Regions from separate parts of the Homo sapiens genome. Here all the other regions are linked to region 3. The links are contacts of gene promoters, found by promoter capture Hi-C in human tissues and cell types (Jung and others, 2019). All regions are on one chromosome and are shown on one strand. Each heading gives the region's core, a stretch centred on a gene start or on the middle of the fragment in contact. The rest is flanking DNA. Distances are from core to core; before and after follow the strand shown.

Region 1 (3,851 bases), core at 977-3,476, 650 kb before region 3:
TGAGAACCATGAGTTTGTGGCTCTGTGAAGGAGAAGCATTGGAAGTGTTGAGCTTTGAAAAGAAAAAGAGTAAAACAGCAAAGCCTTGGGAGTCAGTTGAACTGGTCAGTTGCTGAGAGGCTGGCAGCGGAGCGTTGCCGTTGGTGGATGTGCCACAGGCAGAGTTTGCTCCTTGGCTGGCAGGTCAGGGACTCATCACTCAGCCCAGCCATAGATACTCTGAGTCCAAAGCCGGCCCAAATCACCTTGGGCCACTCTAAAGAGAGAAATAAATGCCGGTTGTCACTTTCTGATAGGCTGATAATGACTTTATGCTACAAAAACATAGGTGAAGCGGATTGAAAATATAACCATTATTTGGGGATTGATTAATGCCTTTTCCTTACTCATGCAGGGGTTATGAGACTGTCAGTAAATCTAAGACATGTTAAATAATGTAGAAAACTATTTGTAGTATAAGCTGATTTTTTTTTTTTTTTTTGAGACAGAGTCTGGCTCTGTAGCCCAGGCAGGAGTGCAGTGGCGCGATCTTGGCTCACTGCAAGCTCTGCCTCCCGGGTTCACGCCATTCTCCTGCCTCAGCGTCCCGAGTAGCTGGGACTACAGGTGCCCGCCACGTCACCCGGCTAACTTTTTATATTTTTAGTAGAGATGGGGTTTCACCGCGTTAGCCAGGATGGTCTCGATCTCCTGACCTCGTGATCTGCCTGCCTCAGCCTCCCAAAGTGCTGGGATTACAGGCGTGAGCCACTGTGCCTGGCCTAAGCTGATTGTTTAGTAAAAATTATTACACAAATAACTTGAGGAAATAAGGCTAAATAGTGCTTATCAGACAAGATGAAATTAGGAATTTTTTTTGGTTTTGTTTTTTTAATTTTTAATAAAGCTATTTTGCCAAATGGGAAAGGTAATTATTTGCTTGGAAAGATACCCCATTTTGGAAATACAGTCCTTGAAACAAAAACTTGTTTGTTTTCTAATGTCTTATTTGATTAAAATTTTGTCAGCTTTTGGGGAGACTTTAAAACACATTCCCTCAGGTAATGTTAAATTGCAGGATCTTCTTTGGAAGTTAGAGGTAACTGACATGCAAATAAATAAACTAAAGTCATGTCGTTACCTCTTATTATGATTTTAGTTCATTTTCTTCTGGATATTTAGAAAATATATCAAATTGGAGAAGCCTTAGAATGTTATTTTATAAAGCAGTGTTCCCTGAGAAGTCAAATTTCTTAATTTTTCCTCCAATGTCATCAAAATATGCCTTAGCTGGGCATGATAGTATGTGTCTGTAGTCCCAGCTACTTAGGAGGCTGAGGCAGGCAAATTGGTTCATGCCAGAAGTTTGAGACCAGCCTGGGCAACATAGCAAGATCCCATTTCTATTTTTTAAAAAAAGTCTTAAAACAAATAATATTTCTTTTATCAGAGAAAGAGTGATAAGCCATTGGCTTGCTCCAGATCATTCACTCACCACCTTGCCAGGTGACTCACTGAATGAGGTACACCAAAGTGGCAGTGAGCCGCTGGGAGGGCGAGATGCCTCAGGGTTCTGGGGTTCCCAGATTGTGTTTTGTTGTCTGGCAGGACACTGGATAAACCCAGAGTTGAATTCCCCTCCCTGTTTATTATATATATATATATATATTTTTTTTTAAATTTTATATATATATATATATATATATTTATATATTTCCAGGCACTGGGTCTTGCTGTGTCACCCAGGCTGGAATCAGTGGTGTAATCATAGTTCACTGCAGCCTCAAACTCCTGGACTTAAGTGATCCTCCTGCCTCAGCCTCCTGAATAGCTAGGACTATAGGCATGTGCCACCACACCAGGCACATGTTTTTTTCTTTTATGTCTTTTTGTTGAGATAAGGTCTTACTTGAATGTCATCTAGGCTGGAGTGCAGTGGTGCAGACATGGCTCACTGTAGCCTCTACCTCTTGGGCTTAAGCGATCCTCCTGCCTCAGCCACTTGAGTAGCTGGGACTACAGGTGCATGCCACCATACCTGGCTAAAATTTTTTTTTTTTTTTTTAAGAAAGACAGGGTCCCACTATGTTGCCCAGGCTGGTCTTGAACACCTGCTCTTGAGCAATTCTCTTTGCTCAGCCTCCCAAAGTGCTAGAAGTATAGGTGTGAGCCACCATGCCCAGCCTGCCCTCTGTAATGACTGTTCCAGCCCACAGTCCTCTGTCATTCTCTCTTCAGAAAGGCTACAGCGTTGATTGAGGTTACAGAAGTTTAGGGCATGGCTTTTCCCCCTGTCTCAAAATAGTGACAACAAAAAACAATTTATGATCTAGTTAAGGTGGATTCTGCAGATGATGGCTCTCCTCCAGGAACCCAATTTTTGTCTCACCCTCATAGCATTGTTTTGTCTTTGCATTTGGACTGTCTCTTACCCTCAAGCTCATAATATTCTGACTGTTGAGAACTTTTGACCCTGACAACTCCTTTTCACTATGTAGAAAACTGGCTGGGTGTGGTGGCTCATGCCTGTAATCCCAGCACTTTGGGAGGCCAAGGTAGGAGGGTCAGTTGACCCTGGGAGTTTGAAAACAGCCTGGACAACGTGGTGAAACCTTGTCTCTACAAATAAGTTTTTAAAAATTAGCCAGGCATGGTGGCAAGCGCCTGTGGTCCAAGCTGCTCAGGAGGCTGAGGTGGGAGGATCACTTAAGCCTGGGCAGTTGAGGCTGCAGTGAGCTGTGATTGTGCCACTATACTCCATCCTGTACAACAGAGTAAGACTCTGTCTCCAAAAAAAAAAAAAAAAAAGACTAAAAAAGCTATTACTTATTTGACTGCACTGTTCTTCCCTACCACCACCATCCTCTTCCTGCTGTTTCTTCCTCTCAACGAACTGAGGAGCAAAGGTTTGGAATAGTCACTTTTCAGCAGGCAATATAGCAGTACTGATTCAAATGTAAAATGTAAATCGACTTTGATCTGGAAAGCTCACTTCTAGGAGTATCTTCCATAGATGTTCACAGAAGTATGCAAAGGTAAACATAAAGGGCTGTTCAGAGTAGCACTGAAACCCAAACTAGGAACCAATTCAAAAAACTGGAAAACTGGAGAACCTTCCTAATAGAATAGGGTTCAAGTGTCACAGAGGATATCTGTTCTGACGTGGTAAAATGTTCAAGAGCTGCTTAAGTATTTACGAGTCTGTATTTTGTTAAGTGAAAGAAAGCTATACTGCACACGGTAGTGTCATAGCATTTTGCCAGTACTTCTATTACATTTTCTTCATTTCTCACTTAGTTGGCTGAAGTTCATCCTCTACTGGTTTATTCAAGAAGGTTCATGGAGCTGTATTCCCAAAGTTTTTATGAAAATATTTGTGGTTTTATAAATGAATAACAGCAGAGTGTAGAATTCTTGGGTCCCTCTTTCTGAGGACATTTTAATCACGATTTATTTCACTGTTGGTGATGTGCCTCTTTGCCAAATGTTCCCCTTCCATTTGTTTCAACCAGGAGAGCATTAGTCCCACATTTTTGCTTGACTCATTTCCACAAATCTGCTGTGAGTAGCCCAGGCTCGTTTCTGCTCATCTGGATTTCTGAAGAGAATTTCAGGTTTTCTTGCAGAGGATTTTAGCTTCCTGTCTGAAGTGAAGACATAGTGAGAGCAAGTTTTGGTGAGCACATACAGGCTGAGCACTCCAATTCTATATCTCCCCACCAGGTTACCAACATCAAGAAGACACTCAAAGCCACCGCATCCTCCTCGGCTCAGGAGATGGAGCAGCAGCTGGCTGAACGGGAGTGTCCCCCTCACGCTGAGCAGAGGCAGCCCACCAAGAAGATGTCCAAAGTGAAAGGTCTGGTCTCCAG
Region 2 (3,707 bases), core at 412-2,911, 570 kb before region 3:
GGGTTTCACCATGTTGGCCAGGCTGGTCTTGAACTCCTGACCTCAGGTGATCCGCCTGCCTCAGCCTCTTAAAGTGCTGGCATTACAGGTATGAGCCACCATGCCCGGCCTGAATTTCAAATTCTTAGAGAGAGGAATTACCTGACTTGGCTCAGGGCAGGGGTTTCACGAATCAGGTGGGACTGCATGGAGCCACGTGGAGCCACACCTTATGGGATATTCTGAAGGAGACAGTGATGTGTCTAGGGTGCAGCTGCTCCCACCTGGTCCTCCCACTTCTTCCCATGGATCCAGTTCTAAAGGTGCCCTCACCTGCATGATCCCACCACCCCCATCCCATCACAAAGGGGCTTCTGCCATCTCCTAAGAGTGGTTCCCCTGCCTTCCCACTCTGCTAGATTAGCACAGCCTCTGTTCCCGTACTCTGCTTTAGTTTTCCTCACAGCATCCTTGATGTGAAATTTCATATTTGCTAATCTTTTATCGGCCTCCCCAACCAGAACCTAAGATCCCCCTGGGCAGGGACTTTGTCCTCTTCACTGCCCCAGCCCTAGCTCCTACAATCGTGCCTGAGGCTCAGTGAGTATTTGGTGAATGACTGAAATAGACTCACATCCTCCCCAGTGGGAGGCCGCCAAAGTCTCCAGGACCACTTCGAAAACAGGGACCACAGGGCTGGGGTGGTGGCCAGTCAGTCCTCTGCCCCCGTCTGTCTCCCCAAACCCCAGTCCTCCTCTTCCAGCTCTGGCCGCCTCCCCAGGGGGAAAGGTGGGGAAAATTGTCTCATCGTCTCTTTATTTCTCCAGATGAGCTTCAGAATTATTTGGGCTCGTTTCCCAAAAAGTTCCATTAAAATTTTGGTGGACATCACATTAAATGTATACATCCATTTAAAAAGAAAAGACATTGTTACAACATGGAGGCTTCTCACCATGAGCACACTTCTCTTGTCTTCCTTTAAAACCCTCAGTAAAATTCTGTAGTTTTCAGAGTTTCTGCATATTTATTGTTAAGCTTATTTCTAGGGTGTTTGATTTTTACAGTTGCTATTGTGTGTGTGTGGGGGGGGTGGTCTTTCCCCTCCTCTTTTATTTTCTAATTGTTGGTATAGAGGAAAGGAAGTGATTTGTGAATGTTTCTTTTTTATCCATTCACTTTATCTAATTTCACTCTTAATAAAATTCTAGGAATTTTTCATTTGGTTATCGGGGCTATAAGACTGCATTATCGACAAATGATAATTTTACCTCTTTCCTTTTTCTTCCTCTAGTTGTATGTCTTTTTCAGCTGTTTCTTATTGCATTCAGCAAAGCGGATCTTTTCTTAAATAAACCTTTCATTAGGGAAGACATTCAGGACTCCGCAGAATATTTAAGGAACAAAACCATGAAAGTGACACATCTCGACTCCTGGGATGCTGCCAATGCAGTACTTAGAGGAGATTTATGGCTCCCAGTGCTTATATTAGAGAGGGAGAAACGAGAAACAATAAATCAAGCTGATACCTAATGAACTTTGTTCCCTTTAAGCTATGAACCAAGAAAATGGAGAAAAAGGAAGTAATAAATCTAAACAAAATGTAGGAAGAAGAGAGAATTGATAAACTTAATCAGTAGCACATGGGAGGAAATGGCTCTTCTGCAGAGCGGGCCAGAGTGGGACGGCATGGAGAAGTGGGAACAGGTCCTTCCAGGCAGCCTGGCTCTTCCTTCTCATCATGTACTGGGAGGTGGGTGGGTTTGAGGCAGGAGGCTCTGCTGACCCCATGGCCACCCACTGGCCATGGACTTCTGATGGGAGTTTTTGCTGGAACCAGTACTCTGGAAATACTTGGCTGGGGTAGAGAACGCTCAAAATCAGGAATGCATCCCCAGCAGATGCGGCCTCCAGGGAGAAAGAGGTGCTAAGCCGGGGTGAGCAGTGAGTGTGCCCCATAGGCGTCTCACACCATACTTTGTAAATCCATCTGGTCTCATGCTTCTTAGAGGGTCCTTGTTTCCCTCTATCTTGTCTTCAGTCAAATTTCTTTTCAGAATTCCACCCTGATGGAGAAAAAGGCAAGCTGTCGGTTTTGTTTGCCCTCAGGCCAGAGCACTTGGGGATGAGGGCGGGTGTAAGAGGGCACAGGTGGCTAGTGTGGGAAGACTGGTTATGCTGGGCCCACAGCTTCTTTTTGGGGTGGTTGTTTGGAGGATTTAAAGCTATGTTTATTTATTTATTCATTCATCTGAGATGGTCTTGAAATAGCACAATGCTGTGTTTTTTTTTTTTAAGGGAAAACTCCCTTAGAATTGGTCTTTAAAAAATTCATAAGTCATTAGCCAAATTCTAAAAAGGAGCAAATGCAAATTAATACACTCTGAAAAAGGAAAGAACTAATACAAAATATGTTCTACAAGCAAAACGAGGGTATCAGCTTCTCAGCAGTCTGCTTGTATGTTTTTGTAACCAAATGGAAATTGTTTTCTTCCCAGGGGCTCATCATCTACTCCTCTCAACTCAGTGTAATCTGCAACAATTGCTTTTAATAGAGAAGATAAAGCTCCCAGCTGCGTTTTTAAACAAACAGAAGGACAGAAGGACATCTTGGCATAGATCTGGTTTCTGGTCATAATCGCTGGATGGCCTCTTCATTTTACAAGGGAAGGGGAATCAGCTCCCATTTTCCAGGTGGGAGTTGGTGTCAAACCGGCTTAGCAGGTGCTGGCTCCCTGGTGAGCTGAGTTCTGGCACAAGCAAACTAGTCTCCTGGAAGGGAAGAATGAAGACCCCATTTGTCTCTTCCAGGTCAAGATCTTAAGTCAGGAGATTTGTGGGAGGGCTCTGGCCACGGTCTTGTGAAAGGGTTGCACCACTCCTGGCACAATGTGAGCTGAGGCTGGGAGTTGCAGGGCTCACCCACCCTGCTGGTATGGAGGTTTGGGGAGACTCTCAAGTCTGCGAAGGTGACCTAAGGAAACTGAGGTCTGGGAACCCAAACGAGGGCTACCATTGAAGTATGAACAGTAGGGGCATCACCGCAATGGTCCACAGGTGTCCTGCAGACTGCGGGACGAGTTTTCAGCAGTGATACTGGGGGGCAGCAGCAGAGGCAAAGATGGCAGCAGAATCTACTTGCCTGGTGTGGGGAGGACTCAAGATGGATGGAGGTACTGACTTTCCTGGTAACAGGAGCTTGTAGACATGTGACTGGACATTCAGAGATGTGATTCCTTTGTATGCCAAGAAGGTGAAGCAGTTTACTGTTCTTCTCCATGCACTTAGCAATATATGTTAATTTCCAGCATTTGGCAAAATCAAGTTAGTCTGGGCAGCTTTAAGAAAAGAAACAGGGCCAGGCGCAGTGGCTCACACCTGTAATCCCAGCACTTTGGGAGGCCAAGGTGGGTGGAACACCTGAGGTCAGGAGTTCGAGACCAGCCTGGCCAATATGGTGAAACCCCATGTCTACTAAAAATACAAAAATTAGCTGGCTGTGGTGGTGGGTGCCTGTAATTCTAGCTACTTGGGAGGCTGAGGCAGGAGAATCACTTGAACTCGGGAGGTGGAAGTTGCAGTGAGCCAAGATTGCACCACTGCACTCCAGCCTGGGTGACAAGGTAAGACTCTGTCTCAAAAGAAGAAAAGGAACAGATATTTACCACAACACAAATACATCTAAGTTTTGAAGGTTTAGAACAGAATTACTTTTTTTTTTTTTTTTTTTT
Region 3 (3,459 bases), core at 419-2,918:
TACAACTACTTGTGAATCTATAGTTCTGTCAAAAATTCCAACTTAAACATGAAACTCAGGGTGGCTATAAAGCCTCCTGACTCACCTTGACTTTGGAATCAATCAATCAATTAATTGAGGAGACCCATTAGTGAGTCTCCTCTGACTTTCAGCCAAGAATGTTCCTAACTCAGCAAGATGAAGCAGGAGGTAGAGGAAACTAAGGGGGCAACAAGCAGGGGGCAAGAAGGACCTATGAGAGCGACATCTTCCCTGAGAGCCCCAGGACGACCACCGGGAAGCCAGGAGGGCGCAGGCAGGAGGACCCGGGAAAGCTCGGCCTGAGGGAGGCCCTAGGCGTGGTGGGGAGTGGGGCAGGGCAGGCAGAGGCTGGGCAGCAGGTGAGGTCCCCTGGGTTCTGAGGGCCAAGCCTGGGGTTTGAGGTAAACAGGCTCGAGTGGAGAAGGGGCTGCTGTGGTTGGGCTGGGGTGGGTGGAGCTGGAGGAGCCTTTTCTTCTTGAACCAGTTTTTGAATTGTGCTACAAAACACGGTACATCAAGTTTACCTCCTTCACCATTTTCAAGTGTACAGGGCGGCAGTGTTGAGTACACGCACAGTGTTGTGCAGCTGATCTCCAGAACATTCTCATCCTGCAACCTTGAAGCTCTGTCCCTATTAAACTCCAACTCTAACCCTAACCCCAACCCTAACCCATTGCCTCCTCCCTCAGCCTCAGGCAACCTCCATTCCACTTCTGTCTCTATGTATTTGACTCCCCTCGGGACCTCAGAGAAGTGTGTTCGTGCGTATTTGTTCTTTTGCACTGGTATATTTCACTGAGCATAATGTCCTAAGGTTCATCCATGTTGTAGCAGGTGTCAGGGTCGCCTTTGTTTTCAAGGCTGCGTGATACTCCATTGTATGTGTGCACCCTGTTTGGTTTCTCCATTTCTCTTTTGCTGGACACTTGGGTAGCTTCCAGCTCTTGGCTGCTGTGGATAATGCTGCTGGGAACATGGGTGTGCAGTTATCTGTTCGAGTCCCTAGTTCGCATTCCTTTGGCTACACACTCAGAGTGGGATGTCTGGACTGAAGCAATACTTTTGAACTCAGCCTGAGGTTACCAAACTCTCTGAACTCCTTATCAGAGGCTACACTTCTGGGTGTTCCCCGGGGCCCATGGAAAACAGACTCACCCCAGGCTCCATCTACCTGTGCAAGGGAACAGGGGTCAACCTCAAGTGCACAGGCTGCTCTGGAAGACCCAGCCCAGGTCTGGCTGACCCAGAGCACTGGCCCCTTCCCAGCCTGCGTCCTCAGGACATAGGTGTGGGCACCCATATACACCAAGTGGGTTCTAGGGCAGCCAGGCCACCCAGTGTGCCTCCTTTCACACTCCTCTGGGGCTCGTGACATTACGAGCCCTAACCCGGGCCCTGGCCTAGGCTGTGTGTTTCCAGTCTCACCTCTCTTCACACCTTGAATGAGGTGAATGAAGGAGTGGCAACGCGTCTCCCACAAGACACTGTGAGCCACACCCAGTCCCTTCCCTTCAGCAAGCTTGGCTTCAGGTCACAGGACTGGGCGGGGTCAAGATGGACACCAGGGGTGTGGGGAGGGACGTGGAGCATTTACAGCCAGGGGCAAAGTCCTCCCCTGATTTAAACCCAGGCAGCCTGCGCTGCAGCCGGTTCCTGGTGTCCCCACTTCGCCTCCCTCCTGCTGCCCCCAAGACATGCAGGGGCCCTGGGTGCTGCTGCTGCTGGGCCTGAGGCTACAGCTCTCCCTGGGCGTCATCCCAGGTAATGAGGCTCCCCAAGCTGTTCCACACACAGGGCACCCCCTCAGCCAGGCTGACCTGATCTCTACTCTCCCCCTGGCCAGCTGAGGAGGAGAACCCGGCCTTCTGGAACCGCCAGGCAGCTGAGGCCCTGGATGCTGCCAAGAAGCTGCAGCCCATCCAGAAGGTCGCCAAGAACCTCATCCTCTTCCTGGGCGATGGTGAGTGAGCAAGGCCTGTCCAGCCCCGTAGTCCTCACAGCCCCGGCACCCGGGACCTTCAGTGGTTCCAGGACAACCCTGGGGCCCAGGACTCACACATTTCTGCTCCTTCAGGGTTGGGGGTGCCCACGGTGACAGCCACCAGGATCCTAAAGGGGCAGAAGAATGGCAAACTGGGGCCTGAGACGCCCCTGGCCATGGACCGCTTCCCATACCTGGCTCTGTCCAAGGTAAGGGCTGGGCCACCTCAGAGTCCTCCAAGCAGAGGAGAGGGATCAAGGATATGGAGTGTGGCAGGAGGGAGGGAGCCAGGACAGCTGGGGCCTAAGTTAGGAGCTGGGAGCAGTTAGGATCCCAGAGGACCAGAACCAGGTCCTTGGTTGGGGTCTGGGTGTCCGCCCCGAAGTAGAGCTCAGGGTGTCTCCGTTCGCAGACATACAATGTGGACAGACAGGTGCCAGACAGCGCAGCCACAGCCACGGCCTACCTGTGCGGGGTCAAGGCCAACTTCCAGACCATCGGCTTGAGTGCAGCCGCCCGCTTTAACCAGTGCAACACGACACGCGGCAATGAGGTCATCTCCGTGATGAACCGGGCCAAGCAAGCAGGTGAGCTGGGGCCCGCTGTGGGGTCAGGACCAGGCCCAAGATCTCGGTCACCGATCCTGACCTCTGTCACCCTCAGGAAAGTCAGTAGGAGTGGTGACCACCACACGGGTGCAGCACGCCTCGCCAGCCGGCACCTACGCACACACAGTGAACCGCAACTGGTACTCAGATGCTGACATGCCTGCCTCAGCCCGCCAGGAGGGGTGCCAGGACATCGCCACTCAGCTCATCTCCAACATGGACATTGACGTGCGACCCCCGGGCCAAGGGCTGGGGCTGGGCAGAGGGGAAGGTGGCACAGGCTCAGATCCAGGCAACCAAAAGCCTGATCTGGGTCAGCAGGTTCTGGAGGTGGAGTTGGGGATGTAGAATGTGCAATACAGGCTGGGCCATTCCCACAGCCCTGGGGAGGGGAGCCAGGGGCTATGCATGAGGAGGGGGCACGGGGCCAGCCAGGCCCCCAAACCACCTGCCCCATCCATTGTCCTCAGGTGATCCTTGGCGGAGGCCGCAAGTACATGTTTCCCATGGGGACCCCAGACCCTGAGTACCCAGCTGATGCCAGCCAGAATGGAATCAGGCTGGACGGGAAGAACCTGGTGCAGGAATGGCTGGCAAAGCACCAGGTGATGGGGGCTGGTGGGTGTGGGAGGCACGGCAGGGGGAGGCCAAGTGTGTGGGTCTCAGGGCTGTGGGCTGAAGCCTGGCTCTGTCCCTGCAGGGTGCCTGGTATGTGTGGAACCGCACTGAGCTCATGCAGGCGTCCCTGGACCAGTCTGTGACCCATCTCATGGGTAATGACCCCCTTCCTGCCCTGGCATTCCTCAGACAACCTCAGAGGGTGCCATCCGAGCCTGTGTGCCCATTTGC

Evidence for each region. Contacts are between HindIII fragments. The study calls those that stand out against the background at their distance.
Region 1: a fragment that was not itself captured here is called in contact with the fragment with the promoter of ALPI in region 3 in 1 of the 25 tissues and cell types used here (spleen).
Region 2: a contact is called between a fragment that was not itself captured here and the fragment with the promoter of ALPI in region 3, in 3 of the 25 tissues and cell types used here (IMR-90 fibroblasts, dorsolateral prefrontal cortex and liver).

Annotation. Positions count from the first base shown.
Region 1 is chr2:231,803,785-231,807,635 of GRCh38, forward strand. It overlaps COPS7B (COP9 signalosome subunit 7B), which reads left to right. Exons shown (of 7, transcript NM_022730.4): 7 at 3,703-3,851. Among named protein-coding and RNA genes, the nearest start is that of COPS7B, 19 kb to the left of the region's middle. The HindIII fragment of the contact is 7,523 bases long and covers 1-3,851 here.
Region 2 is chr2:231,882,120-231,885,826 of GRCh38, forward strand. No RefSeq gene overlaps it. Among named protein-coding and RNA genes, the nearest start is that of MIR1471, 8.3 kb to the right of the region's middle. The HindIII fragment of the contact is 8,038 bases long and covers 1-3,707 here.
Region 3 is chr2:232,454,485-232,457,943 of GRCh38, forward strand. ALPI (alkaline phosphatase, intestinal) reads left to right here and starts at 1,669. Exons shown (of 11, transcript NM_001631.5): 1 at 1,669-1,782; 2 at 1,865-1,981; 3 at 2,096-2,211; 4 at 2,415-2,589; 5 at 2,666-2,838; 6 at 3,081-3,215; 7 at 3,311-3,383. The coding sequence starts at 1,716. The HindIII fragment of the contact is 7,401 bases long and covers 1-3,459 here.